Linked DNA regions of Homo sapiens: region 1 is linked to region 2. The links are contacts of gene promoters, found by promoter capture Hi-C in blood cells and fetal thymus (Javierre and others, 2016). All regions are on one chromosome and are shown on one strand. The core of a region is centred on a gene start or on the middle of the fragment in contact, and the rest is flanking DNA. Distances in the headings are between cores, read along the strand shown. Region 1 overlaps NAV2 (neuron navigator 2). Region 2 holds the start of NAV2-AS3 (NAV2 antisense RNA 3).

Evidence for each region. Contacts are between HindIII fragments. The CHiCAGO score rates a contact against its expected background, and 5 or more counts as called.
Region 1: a fragment that was not itself captured here is called in contact with the fragment with the promoter of NAV2-AS3 in region 2 in 1 of 17 cell types (erythroblasts); the score reaches 5.3 in erythroblasts.

The regions. Positions count from the first base shown.
Region 1 is chr11:20,110,732-20,117,472 of GRCh38, forward strand. NAV2 (neuron navigator 2) reads left to right here. Exons shown (of 38, transcript NM_145117.5): 37 at 3,861-4,064. It overlaps LOC107984418 (a long non-coding RNA gene), which reads right to left. Exons shown (of 3, transcript XR_001748477.2): 3 at 6,459-6,741. Among named protein-coding and RNA genes, the nearest start is that of DBX1, 46 kb to the right of the region's middle. RefSeq lists enhancers at 842-1,741, 1,742-2,641, 3,446-3,947, 3,948-4,447. The HindIII fragment of the contact is 813 bases long and covers 4,569-5,381 here.
Region 2 is chr11:19,978,246-19,984,482 of GRCh38, forward strand. NAV2-AS3 (NAV2 antisense RNA 3) reads right to left here and starts at 3,129. Exons shown (of 2, transcript NR_174949.1): 1 at 2,992-3,129; 2 at 454-950. It overlaps NAV2 (neuron navigator 2), which reads left to right. Exons shown (of 38, transcript NM_145117.5): 11 at 5,880-6,002. RefSeq lists an enhancer at 236-1,435 and a silencer at 738-1,032. The HindIII fragment of the contact is 1,320 bases long and covers 2,333-3,652 here.

The DNA of each region.
Region 1 (6,741 bases), core at 3,725-6,224, 130 kb after region 2:
ATTTTTAAAAAATTAAAATTCCCTACTCTCCTTTGTGTTACTTTGAGTCCACACCTACTCTAGGGTCACCTGCCCCTCACCTAACCCGGGTAAGTGGCCATGAAGTGAGCACATTGCAGTTCAGAGTGAGGTTCTAGGCTGAGAACAGGTGGAGTCCCTAGAATGGGTTCTGACAGGGCTACCGTGCACCAGGAGCTGGGATGGAGCGCTGCCCATGGTAGTATGGATTTGGTGGGAACGTAAGGAGACCTGCTGTCATCAGGGGATGAGGATGGCTTCCAGGTAGCCCCTCCCACAGGTACACCCGTGCCAGGAGGAAACATGATATCGCCCTCTAGTGAGCATAAGGTAGCACTGCAAGGGCGTGTAAGTGCAGATGCACTTGTGGAACTGCTTGGAGGACCTTCCTGAATGTGCAGCCGATGCATCCTTCTGTGATGTGCACACCCTCCCAGGAGCCCCCTGCATCCCACAGTCAGAAGGCTCACAGTGGCCCAGGTTTTAGTTTTCAATGTCTCAGCTCCCTGTTGTCCTGCTCCCATTTTTCCTGACCCAGTGGGGATGCCAGGTTCCTTCTCCTGCCTTAGGGAAAGTGAATGTCCTCCCCTCTGTGTCTGTCTGTCCAGATGTCTCTGCTGCTGCCCTCGGGGCCTGCAGTGGAGCTGAGGAGCTTTATGATGTTTCCTTTGCTTACCACAGTACTTACCCAGCCATTCATCACCCAGACTTGAACATGTCCAGTGACAAGTGAGGAGGCTTGTAAAAATATTTTCTGTTCTTGCAGATGATGTTAACATGTACCTAATGTGCATTTGTCTTATGACTCAGTCCTGAGCCCTGCTTCCCTTTGGAGCTGTCATTGGAAACACTTGCCAAAGTGTCTAAAGTCTGCAGGGTAACTCAAAAGGCCTTTCTCTGTGCCCAGGGCAGGCTTGGTGCCTGCAGGGAACAGGAACAGTGCAGAGTCAGTGTGGGGCCATTTATCGGATTATCCAGCCTGCTCTGAGACCCCAGACAGGTCTCCCGTCTCTTGGCCTTGGGTTCTCCATCTATAAATTGACAAGTTTGGACTAGAAGAGTGTTTTTTCAGGCTGGTTTCTATGAAGCCCAAAAGTTCCCCAGTCTACTCAGTTGAGGACCAGAGATGAAGAGCAAATGTTTGAAAACCATGGTGCCAGATAATCTCTGAGGACATGTTCAGCTCCAGGAGTTCTAGCCTCTGTGATTCTGCAGCCCTGAGCATGTCCTCATCCAGGCTGTAGAGTGGAGACAGAAGCAGTAGCTGTCACAGAAGCAGTAGCTGTGAGGGTTTGGTTCAGCCTCATGTGAGGTCTGGCTTGGGAAATGCAGCCCAGTTTCCACAGGGAAAGACCTCAGAGGGAGAAACTTCTCAAAATTGCACAAATGGTTCTAATGTGGAGCAGCCTTCTTCTGCTCCAAATATCCCACTTTTGCATTCTCTTCTGCCCTGAGACACATGCCCACATACACACAAACTCATGCCCCTCACACGATTCCTTCCTGCTCACACAATAATTGCTTTTCAAATGCCAGACTGAGCTCCTAGGCCTGAGACTCACTCCTGCCCCAGGTTAAGGAAGACTTAGCAACAGACTGGGCCAGAGCGCAGGACGGGAGGAGTGCTGGTGTCTGGGAAGGCAATGAGTCATAGGAGGCTGCATGACTTAAGCAGAGGGGGTGATAGCCACGAATACAGAGAGATGGGCCCATCTGAGAAGGGGCAGGGTGGGCAGCTTCCCTGACAGAAATCATAGCTAGAGGTCCCAGATGGCACAGACAGTCATGGGAGTATGGGCACTGCTGGCAGGGACAATGAGCCCAGCAGGCTGTCACACTGATATCTGGCCAACAGCCTGCTCCGCGTCTCCCTGCTCTGGGTCTGGCTGAGTCACGTGGCTCACATGACTCAGAGTTGTTCAAGGTGGTGTCAGTCAGGAGGGGTGGAGAGGAAAAAGGCCTGGCAAAGGAAGCTGAGGTTCTAGGTTCAAATCGGGCTCTGCCTGACAGCCTTTCTCAGCGGGCTCTGCTCTTCAGGCCTTGATTGGCCCATCTGGTAAATGAGGGGGTGGGGCTAGGTGGCCCCAGCTCCTTCCCCTTGGAAAGACGTGGTTTTGTTGGTTCAGAGCTCAGCTTCACACTGTTGTCAGCACCTTGCTCTCTGTACCCTCTCCACGGCAGGATTCGCGGGAGGGCAGGGAGAGCAGACAGACAGACAGACAGCCGTGGCCACCCTAGAGACACACTGCAGCCGTGGTGGCCCACAGGACTCTTTAGTCTCTGTGCTCTAAGGCCCCCTGCAGAGTCCTCTCTGCAGAACTACAGGTGACACTGCCCTGGCTGTGAGCATGTCCTGCCACATGGACCAAGTGGGCCAAACTAGTGGGCCGTGGAATTGAACATACTTAGTTTCCAATTCTGGCTTCTCTCCTCCCTGGGCCTATTTCCTCATCTGTAAATCACGGATATTAGTACTTCCTCTTGGAGTTGCACGGTGGTTAAGCAAGGTATTCGTAAAGCATTTCTCACGGTACCTGGCACAAAGTCAGCTGGAAGATGTGGTGGTGTTAAAGGAGAAAAATATAAAGCCTATACCTAGCTGTGTAATATACAGAGCCTCGTGTTGGGCCAGTCTAGGTTTCTGTTCTTCAAAGAATGTATGTATTTCTTGAAATTGCTAGTAATGGTCACTAAAATCATTTTACCATTAGATAATTGAGGCTTAAGAAAAGGAGCTTGGAGGCATGGTGTTGATCTTACCATAAAATTAAGTGATAATATAGTTTACTGTTTTAAGAGCCAATTAGCTATTATGGAATTTTGAGAAATACATGACAAGAGAGAAGCCCTCATAATTTCACTGCCTATGTGCAACCTCTGTTAGCAATTTGCTGTTTTGAAAAGGAGTAGCACTTCTATATAGGGGCTGTAAGAGTCAGACCCATTTCAAGAAACGGGGTTTTATTGAGCCAGGACCAGCCCAGCACAGTGGCTCACACCTATAATCCCAGACCTTTGGGAGACCAAGGCACGAGGATTGTTTGAGCCCAGAAGTTCAAGACCAGCCTGGGCAATATAGAGAGATCCCATCTCTTAAAAAAAAATGTTTTAAAAATTAGCCAGACATGGTGGCACACAAGTAGTCTCAGCTACTTGGGAGGCTGAGGCAGGAGCATCACTTGAGCCCGGGAGATTGAGGCCACAGGGAGCATGATCATGCCACTATACTCCAGCCTGAGCAACATTGCAAAACCTTGTCTCAATACAAAATCAAAGTAAATATTAAGCCAGGGCCATTGTGACCTCTGCCTGCAGTGTTGGTGCCCAGAACCCAAGGTATGTAGGCAGTATTCTTTGGGTAGATGCACCAAATGGAGTACTAGAGCTGGCTCTTGAAAGCTGATAGCACCTTTTTCCAACTCCACATCCAGTGACATCATGTCAGTGGTTTGAAGTCAGTCATGGTGGGATTGTACCATGGATGTTGGCAAATGCTTCAAATCAGGTCATTGTTTTTCCCCAAAAGCCAGTTTTTCAAATTGGATTATCAAGGCTCAGAGTTTAGGGTCACACGGTGAGTCAGTGGCAGAGCTGAGACATGAACCTAGATCAGCCTGACTCCAAAGCCTGTATTCTAGACCACTGGGTCATGCTGCCTTCAGCCTTAGCACCTCGAACTGTCTGCATCTTGGATGACTTCCTGAGCATGGAATAGAAGTGGAATTACTCCATCAGGGAAGGCATGATGCTGGATTTGGGGAGTTTTTCAGAAAGCTGCAAAACTGGGGCTACGAGAGAGATCTGGGCCACTTCCAGACTGTTCCTTCTTTGCCTGTTTTCAGCTCTATGGAAGGCGCGCCCCCTGGGAGGATCCTGCCAAGTGGGTGATGGACACATATCCATGGGCAGCCAGCCCACAACAGCACGAGTGGCCTCCCCTGCTGCAGTTACGGCCTGAGGATGTCGGCTTCGACGGCTACTCCATGCCTCGGGAGGGATCGACAAGCAAGCAGATGCCCCCCAGTGATGCTGAAGGTGACCCGCTGGTGAGTCCTCAGCCACCAGAGCAGCTCAGCATTCCTTTAGCACTTACTGTGTGTTGGGTATGATGCAGAGCCTCTGGAAATACAAAGGTGACTAAATCCAGCCTTGCTTTGGAAGGCTGGACCCAAATGACTGGGCCATTTTTGCCAATATTTTCTTCCATGGTTTTAGTTTTTCACTAAAAACTTCTCCTCTGAAATTTTTTTCTGGTATTAGATAACAGATTAAGAATTGATTTTTCCCCTTAAATGTTCTTATACCTACTGTCTCTATACAACACTTTGCCCTCTGATTTGGGATGCCACCTCTATTACCTACTATCCTATTACTTTGATCTCTCCTACCGATAGCAGAGCAGAGGAAGAGATTGCTAAGGACCAGAAGCCCAAGGCAAATGATAGGGTAAACAGGGAGAGGTCTGAGGGCAGGAGGGACTCACAGAGGGGAGGAGGCCTGAATATGAGTCCCATGGCCATTGAGATGAGCTAAGTCTTTCACACTGTTTAAGCTTCTTATTTATTCGGCTGTTGCTAAAACAATAAAGGCCCTTTAAGAAGCACCCAGGCTGGGGTGGCTCACACCTGTAATCCCAGCACTTTGAGAGGCCAAGGCGGGTGGATCGAGGTCAGGAGATCGAGACCATCCTGGCTAACATGGTGAAACACCGTCTCTACTAAAAATATAAAAATTTAGCTGGGCGTGGTGGCAGGCACCTGTAGTCCCAGCTACTCGGGAGGCTGAGGCAGGAGAATGGCGTGAACCCGGGAGGTGGAGCTTGCAGTGAGACGAGATCGCGCCACTGCACTCCAGCCTGGGCAACAGAGCAAGACTCCGTCTCAAAAAAAAAAAAAAAAAAAAAAAAGCACCCGGGCTGGGTGTGGTGGCTCATGCCTGTAGTCCCAGCACTTTTGGTGGGCAGTTACAGCCTGGGCAACGTAACAAAACCTCTTCTCTACAAAAAATACAAAAATTAACTGGGCATGGTGGCACATGCCTATAGTCCCAGCTACTCAGGAGGCTGAGGTGGGAGGAGGGCTTGAGCCTGGGAGGCAGAGTTTGCAGTGAGCCAAGATTGTGCCACTGCACTCCAGCCTGGTTGATAGAACCAAACCTTGTCTCAAACAAACAAAAGAAACACCCGGGCCAATAACAGTAGTATTTCTAATCGATTGTAGTACTCTACCAATATAAGACCCACACAGAGTCACACTGCTAAATTAGACCTAACAAATCAAAAGCCCAGTAAAATAAAAAGGAAGCAAATATACCAAAACCTCCCATGGTTAAAGGACTATTATCATGCCTTAAATTTAGCCCCAAGCTTTCTTGGCAGGCATAGCAAAAAGAAAACATAACAGAGAATATTATTTACATTACCTAATGAAAGAAAATATTATAAGAGATGTAGCAGGATTAAAAGACAACTGATTTACTGTTCTATTCCTAGCAGCTAATTAAGTCCCTAGATTAAAAAAATAATAATAATATTAATAGGCGATTCAGGTTGTCTGCCATCCTACTGTTTGGTGGGATGTAGCTGTGGTTCTGTTGAAGATTGCAGTGGGAACTGTATTTTTTAAGGATTTATTATTTGTGTTGCCATGTACAACCTAGTTTGCAATATTTATAACAGTAGTCTTACAAAGGAAAGAAGCATACTTTAAACAGCCGTTTGCAACGTTAACCATTGCTGAAAGCCAAAGTCACGGAGGTATTTTTTGCAGGGGCAAACTCATGAGGTCTTAACTTACATAGAAAATAGAATTTAGTATATTTAGAGGAAAGAATGGCCAGCCCATCCCTAAACAATCTTTTCTGAGCCAGTAACATTTGTATCACTGGTTGGACACAGAAGGTGTGTAGGTAAGACCCAGGATTCTTGGAAATGCAGAAACAGATTTCTCCTTCCAACCCCAGGCCCCCAGAAGTGAGCTGTGCCAGTCCAGCCACTTCCATTACCGAGTTAGATATTTGGTATTTCTCCTCAGTTCTGCTCTTTCTGCCCAGGGCCATATGTCTCTATTATCATAGCTCTCTTCTGTATTAATCCTTCTCACTCATGAGACTGAGACTTCCATGAAAACAGAATTTACTTGCTTTTGTTCCAGAACCATATACTGTGGACACACTGGGAGTGTTTAATGAGTGAATAAGTAATCCCAGTTGCCAAGGATTGTCCATTATACTTCAGCTCTGCCTCTTCCCTAGTTATGGCTGTGCAGATGGACACCAGATGATGGTGCTTCTGCAGCCTGGCGCATCTGGGTAGACTCTGCAAAGCATCCTGAGGGGCAGCTGGATTGTATGCCCAGCTGCACCACATCTTGGCCCTAGCTCAGAGAGGCCCCATATTCCTGACTTACTTCCTATATGAAATATAAAATACATACACACAATTTACAGTTATAAATAAAAGTAGTTTTTATTCCCTCTCCCACTCCCAAACAAGTGACCCGTAGTATGTAAACAAGGGCAGATTCAAGAACACTGTCGCTAAACTCTTTTAAGTTAGATGATGATGACAACAGATGACATTTATTAAGCGCTTACTATATGCCAGGCCAGCCCCTTTTCTAAGGGTTTAATACACATTATATCATTTTATTCCCTACTTCAACCCTATGAGAAGTGTTGCCATTCTCCCCATTCCACAGATGACGAACTGCTGGCTCAGATACC
Region 2 (6,237 bases), core at 1,879-4,378:
ATTCTTTTCCAGGTCTGTCCAGAAACTCGATTTGCATCCTAATAAACTCAGAGAATGAATGTCACACTGTATTATAACTGAGTAGAGGGGCCTGTGAAAGCATATGATGTTTGGGGATCTGGATGTTGATGACATTGCTCAACAACAAGGGCTTTTCGTCAGCCCCCATTAGTTTTTTCAATCTAATGCAACAAAGTATGTGTTGATATATACGTCCAGATATTTATATTGTTATTGGCAAGGAATATTACACACACATTTGTAATTATTCCATGTTTCTGTGTCCACGTTTCAACCAAAAGTGTGTCCAAAAAATAGAGACAGGCTGACGTGTCTTCGAAGAAAAGTAATTATGTAGGATTGATTTGTTTTCTGTTTGTTCTTTCATTTCTTGCATCTGAGAGGTTTTTTTTTTTTTTTTTTTTTTATGTCATGCTCTATTAGAAATGCACTCGACTAGAGCAAGTCGGTACGTATTTCTTTCCTTCTCTGTCCCCTCTCTCCTCACACAGTTCTTGACAGAGGTGATTTCTGGTGAGATTAGTGGCAGTCAGTTTGTATTACTTATGCAGGCCATGTTGAACTGTGAACTTTGGAAATGAGAAGCCACCTTTCGCCGCTTCTGAAGGTGACTCACAAAGCCAGTTTCACTTGGTTCCACATTGTTGCATCATTACATTTAAAGAAAGGGAAGAAATCTGTTTACTAAATGTTAGACTTGAAGTCTGGAGTATTTGTTCTAGCAGGTCCTGTTAGATTCCACAGCTTTTTCATAGCTAGTGTCAGTTACCAACCTATTCTGTAGAGAAAGTTCCTTTTGTAAAAGGCATGTTGCCTTCACAGGTCTGTCTTGACTGGAGGGATGGTGAGGACTACCCTTCAAGTCTGGCCAGCTCCCAGAGGTCTGGGATGACTCAGACAGGACTAGGAAATGGTGTGTTCTGAAAAATCTGTAGAAGAAAGTACTGATGAGAAAATGCCCACCAAAAATTGAATACAGAATGTTGGAAGAATCGAAAAGTCGACGTTCTCTTTGAAACAGAAGCCAGAGCCTGTTACTCATTAGTACCTTCATGTATCCCCCATCTTACAGGCAGAGGCCTGGCATCCAAGATGTTCAAAACCATCCCCCAGGTCCCATGCAGCCCAGTTCCTAGCTGTGATCCCAGTGTTCTAACAATAGTGAACTACTTACCCTTCTCTGAACATACCTTCCCCTCTGCCATTTCTCTCTGCTTTTGCATAGGTTATCCATGTGTCTAGATGGATCCTCTTTTGGCTGGCAAACTCCTCCGCACCCTTTAGGGCCAACTTAAACAGCACTCCTCTGCGACGCTTTCTCCCGTGTGTTCTCAAAGCCAGTCATGCATTCATCTGTTATACCACTTTTATGTAGCAGTAGAGCTATTTGCATGTCTTAGTCCCTAGTAGGTTTTGAGCTTCACCAGAGCAGGAACTAGGTCTTGCCACTCCTGTAAGCAGCTAATGATTAGGAAGTGCTCCCTATATGCCAGGCACTGGGCTTTCTAAACATATGCACTGTCTCATTTAACCTGCCACAATCCTATGAGGGAACTTAAACTAGAAGAAATTGCGCTGAAATGCGACAGTTGGGATTTGAACTCACCTGCCTGCGCTGGGATCTTAACCACAGCTCTGTTTTCCTCATCTGAACAATAGAGATGACAATAACACTTGATAAGATTATTTTGAAGGTTGAATGCCATGATTTATGTGAAGCACTTAACACAGTACCCAGTGAGCATTTAGTACCATTAGTGCTTACTAACAATGATGTATACTAGGTCCTTCAGCCAGCAAGGGGCAGAGAAGGCATTTGAACAACTTGGGTCTAACAACAGTCATGTTCCTTAACCCTGATGCTCATGGGCCACCCCAGGGAAGCAAGAAAAACACCCCACAGACACCTTGTCCCTTTAGCAGAGGCTCTGACTCTTTCCATCCAGGGGTCTCTGGGGAAGCTTAAGAAGGTGGATGCGGAGAGCCGCCTCCACCCACCTATCATGGCAGAACTCGGGAGGGTAATGGGGAGATGGTTCAGTAGCTTAGCAACTGAGGCAAGAGTCCACTCAGAAGACATTAGGATGTTACCAGCACCTCATTAGGCTCCAGCACTAATTATTTATCTCTCCAAGGAGAAGGAAAGTGTGGCATGGGTGTTCTGAGATTGAGTTCTTGGATCAGCTGGTTCCTTTGCTTGTGACCTCAGACAAGTCATTTCTTCTTCACCCAGTGTGAGCCTCTTATAAAAGCTCCTCAAGTGGAGGATGAGGCCATCAGTCCTCTGGCTCCCTGAACCTTCAGAAACACAAGCTTTTTTAACACTTCTGGGCAAAAGCCAGTGTTTCAGATAAACACACCCGTGGCTGCTTCATCTGTAAATTATGCTTTCTTAAGGCCTTCACTTTGTTAAGGCAGTCTATATTGATGTATACAATAGCCAATTCCTATACAAATTTTGGTCCAGCAAACCCAAATTTGTATATTTTTCATTGACTGTATAATACAGGAGTTATTTAAAAATATATACAGAGCTGTTTGTAAATCATTGTAATTGGTGGATAATAATTTAGAAACATTTTAAATTAATTTCTTGAGTGTGAGGCTGGCTCTAACCACAGCTCTGTCTCTGGTGCTGTGCCGTCTCCCAAGGAGAGACATACAACAGAATTTATTTCAAAGAATATTGTTGTTTAAAAAACAGTTGAACATGTGTTTACATATCTCTAAAAGAAGAGGTAAGTTCCCCATTTTCCTTATCACTCTGCCTGCCCTCCCTCTACATGCGCACGATAAGTGAAATAGACTTGCAGTCTTGAAACTAGATCATTGTCAGACTAGTTGCATTCACCTCCCTGACTTTCATTTCTTCCTACAGTTTGAGAAGGCAGAAGATCCTGATTTAGCTTTGCCTTTCCCCTCCCCTCTGCCAAAACAAAGTCAGAATTCCCAACAGCAAGCCCAGCTCACATGTTCAGTTCCATTTCAGTCCCATTTCTCAGAGGCTTTCCCGCTTTTCTGGGGTTGTCGTTTTCTGATACATCCACGTTGCACCCGGGTGTAGCTGGGCTGGGGCTGCAACGTTTCTCAGCATTCTGTGTCTGGAATGCTCACCAGGCCCCACAGTCTGGCCTTAGCAGGAAGCCAGGGTTCTGTACATGTGGGCCTTGTCTACATGCCTGTGTGTGTGTAATTACCCAACCGTGTGTGTTGTTTCACCAGCAATAAAAATCCAGCAGGGAAATGAATGCTAAAATTAGTTTGTTTGTCCTTTGACAAGATCTCCCCAGTTGAAAGAATTTTGTTTATCTAACTGGCTGGGCAGACTTGGCTAAGATCAAAATTAACTGCCTTGCTTAATGGTGTAATAGATGGTATTTTGAAGAGCTTCCACTGAGTTCTCCTTGAAAGGACGTGGGGTCTAGAAAGTCCAGCCTCTGGCAAAGTTATGGCATTTTGGTGTAGGTGTTTTTTCCTCCTTGTGCTACCTGTAGGATGGATGCCCATAACCCATTACTCTACCCTGAGTCACTCTATCTGTTGGAGGGTGGCTGGATGGATGGATGATGGGTAGATTGGCAGATCGACAGTTTAATTTGCTTGTCATATGTCTTAAATGTAAGTTTGTTAAAGCTTAAGAGGAAAGAAAACCTGTAATCAGTGTTCTTGCAAAAAAAATTTGCACAGCCCTATGGCTGTGTCTTTGGGCTTCATTCATTCATGTGTTCATTCATTCAACAAAAACAGCATTTAATAAGCACCTAGTATGTACTAAGCTCATGGGATATAGATTTGAACAAAATAAGAATCTCTGCCTGCAAAGAGCTTACTATTTAGTGTGAGAGACATGCATTGAAGGGCAATTAAACAAATAATTATTTAACTATAGCTGTAATCATTTTTTATATTTTTATTGAGATTTAATTCATATATCATGAAATTCACCATTTTATTTATTTATTTTTGGGGTTTTCTTTTTTGTTTTGTTTTTGTTTTTGTTTTGTTTTGTTTTGTTTTTTGAGACGGAATCTCACTCTGTCGCCCAGGCTGGAGAGCAGTGGCACGATCTCGGCTCACTGCAACCTCCACCTCCCGGGTTCAAGTGATTCTCCTGCCTCAGCCTCCCAAGTAGCTGGGACTACAACAGGTGCATGCCACGTGCCCGGCTAAAAATTCACCATTTTAAAGCATACAATTTGATGGTTTTTAATGTATTCACAGAGTGGTTTTTAAAATGATAAAGTTGAGTGAAAACTTCAGTCTCTTCTGTTGCATTTTCAGCACAAGCACAAACACTTAGTCTGATTTACTCCAACAGATTTCTCATTATGTTGATATTGTGACCTTGGGGATCATTAATGTCATAAAGGGAGGAGCAGGGAACATTGGAGGTGTTGAATTTAGCCACAGTAGCTTAGAAGCTTCCTGGGTTCCTCTTACCCATTCTGGAAGGTGCTTTTCACATGAGATAACTCCAGTGAGAATTTTCTTCTCTGCCCCTTACTTGAACTTCCTGGTCTGGGCAGCCTCGTCTGCATCTCATAATTCTGTTCTTGAAAAATATATCCTAAAAAGGTCCCCAGCTACAGGTAGAAGAAATTCAAGGATTGGGAACCCTCAGGGTCGACTCCATATATGCAAAAGTTAAAATGGCAAGTGCAATTAAGCTTTCCATGACGTAGCTCAGCTGACCCTGTTTCAGAAAAATAATGACTCATTGGTCCTCTTACTACATATTACTTGATTTGAAATGTAAAATGCTTGCATTTTCAGATACCTTGCAGGGTGATCTGATGGGGCCCATAAGGGATTGAAGGGATCCAAGTTTGGTTTCTGGCTCTGCCCAAGTTTTGCTTTGCCTTCCTGTTCTCCTCTGAAGATGAGGGAAATGACAAAACCAGTCTCCTTTATGGGGGCTGTGAGGAAGCCAAGGTAGATATGAGGTACAGCTGCCTTGGACTGAGCTACCTCCTACTAGTGGCTAAGCTTTCAGGAACTTGTCTGGTTGGTAGACAATCAGCCATCTGTACAGAAAGTTCCAGACATCCTCCCTCTCAAGAACAGCACTGATTTCATCAGAAGACAGCTTTGTAGTATTACCAAAAAAAGAATAAACTAGCATTAGTGTTGTTCAGAGTTTTGTGGCAACCCCCTGAAAACATCAGTATCAAGGGTGAAATTCACCTCATGATCGTGACAACCGTAATGTCTTCCACTTATATAGCCTTACACAAATTTCAGTGCACTTTCATATTCCTTATCTCACTAATTCTCATGCCCATGTTGTGATATTCCCACATGTCACAGGCCGTGATAGTCCTATAGCCTGGGTGAAAAACTCACCATCCAGGGAAGGGACTCGCCTGTGATGGCAAAGGCCACTCATCTATCCTCTCTCCTTTCTTTCCCCCTCTCTCAAAAGCCTGCCTGCTTTTTCCACTCACTGTTCTGTAATATTATTGCCTATGATTTGCTAATGATTTGTCAGTTCCATTTCCGTTACTCAGGTAAAACACCTGCTTGTATAATCGCTGACATTGAAAAGAATGTCATGAATCCATGTGACAGTTAATTTTATTCCCTAGTTCCCGTCTGCGTCGTAGGTACCTGTGAGTTTGGGTTAATTAAGCTGAGTTCGCTCTCTTTTTTCACCTTTTTGTTAGCGAGCTGGGGATCCTCTAGGTTGGATCAGCAGCTGAGTTATCCTTGGGCTGTGATCAGTGCCAGAGCCTCAGGGAATCCTCCGTTTCTTCCCCCTTAGAGCACTTGGCGGCTGTACAGGCTTCTGGATATGAATGCAAGCCTGGAAGCCACTTGCTTTGGACATTCATGTGCATCATCTTCTTCTCCTTTTAAAGATACATGACTGATGGTGGACTTGGCCTCTATACCCGTCGCCTGAACCGGCTCCCTGATGGGATGGCTGTGGTACGGGAGACCCTGCAACGAAATACCTCCCTGGGCCTCGGAGACGCTGACAGGTAAGCTTGCTGCACTTGGGGCTGGTCAGATGCAGAGGTGATCCCAGGGGGGCCCTGAGAAATGAGGGTTATGATATTGGGAGAGTGAATGGAGACTTGAACCCACAGAGAGGGAGGGGAGGCCTGGAATCTGTACCTGGGGTTAGGAGCAGGTACAGTAGGTAGGAAAGGGCTGCCGAGGGTTCTTGAGTCCTGCTTCTGTGTAGGGTGGTGCTTCTGACAGCAGTAACACAGG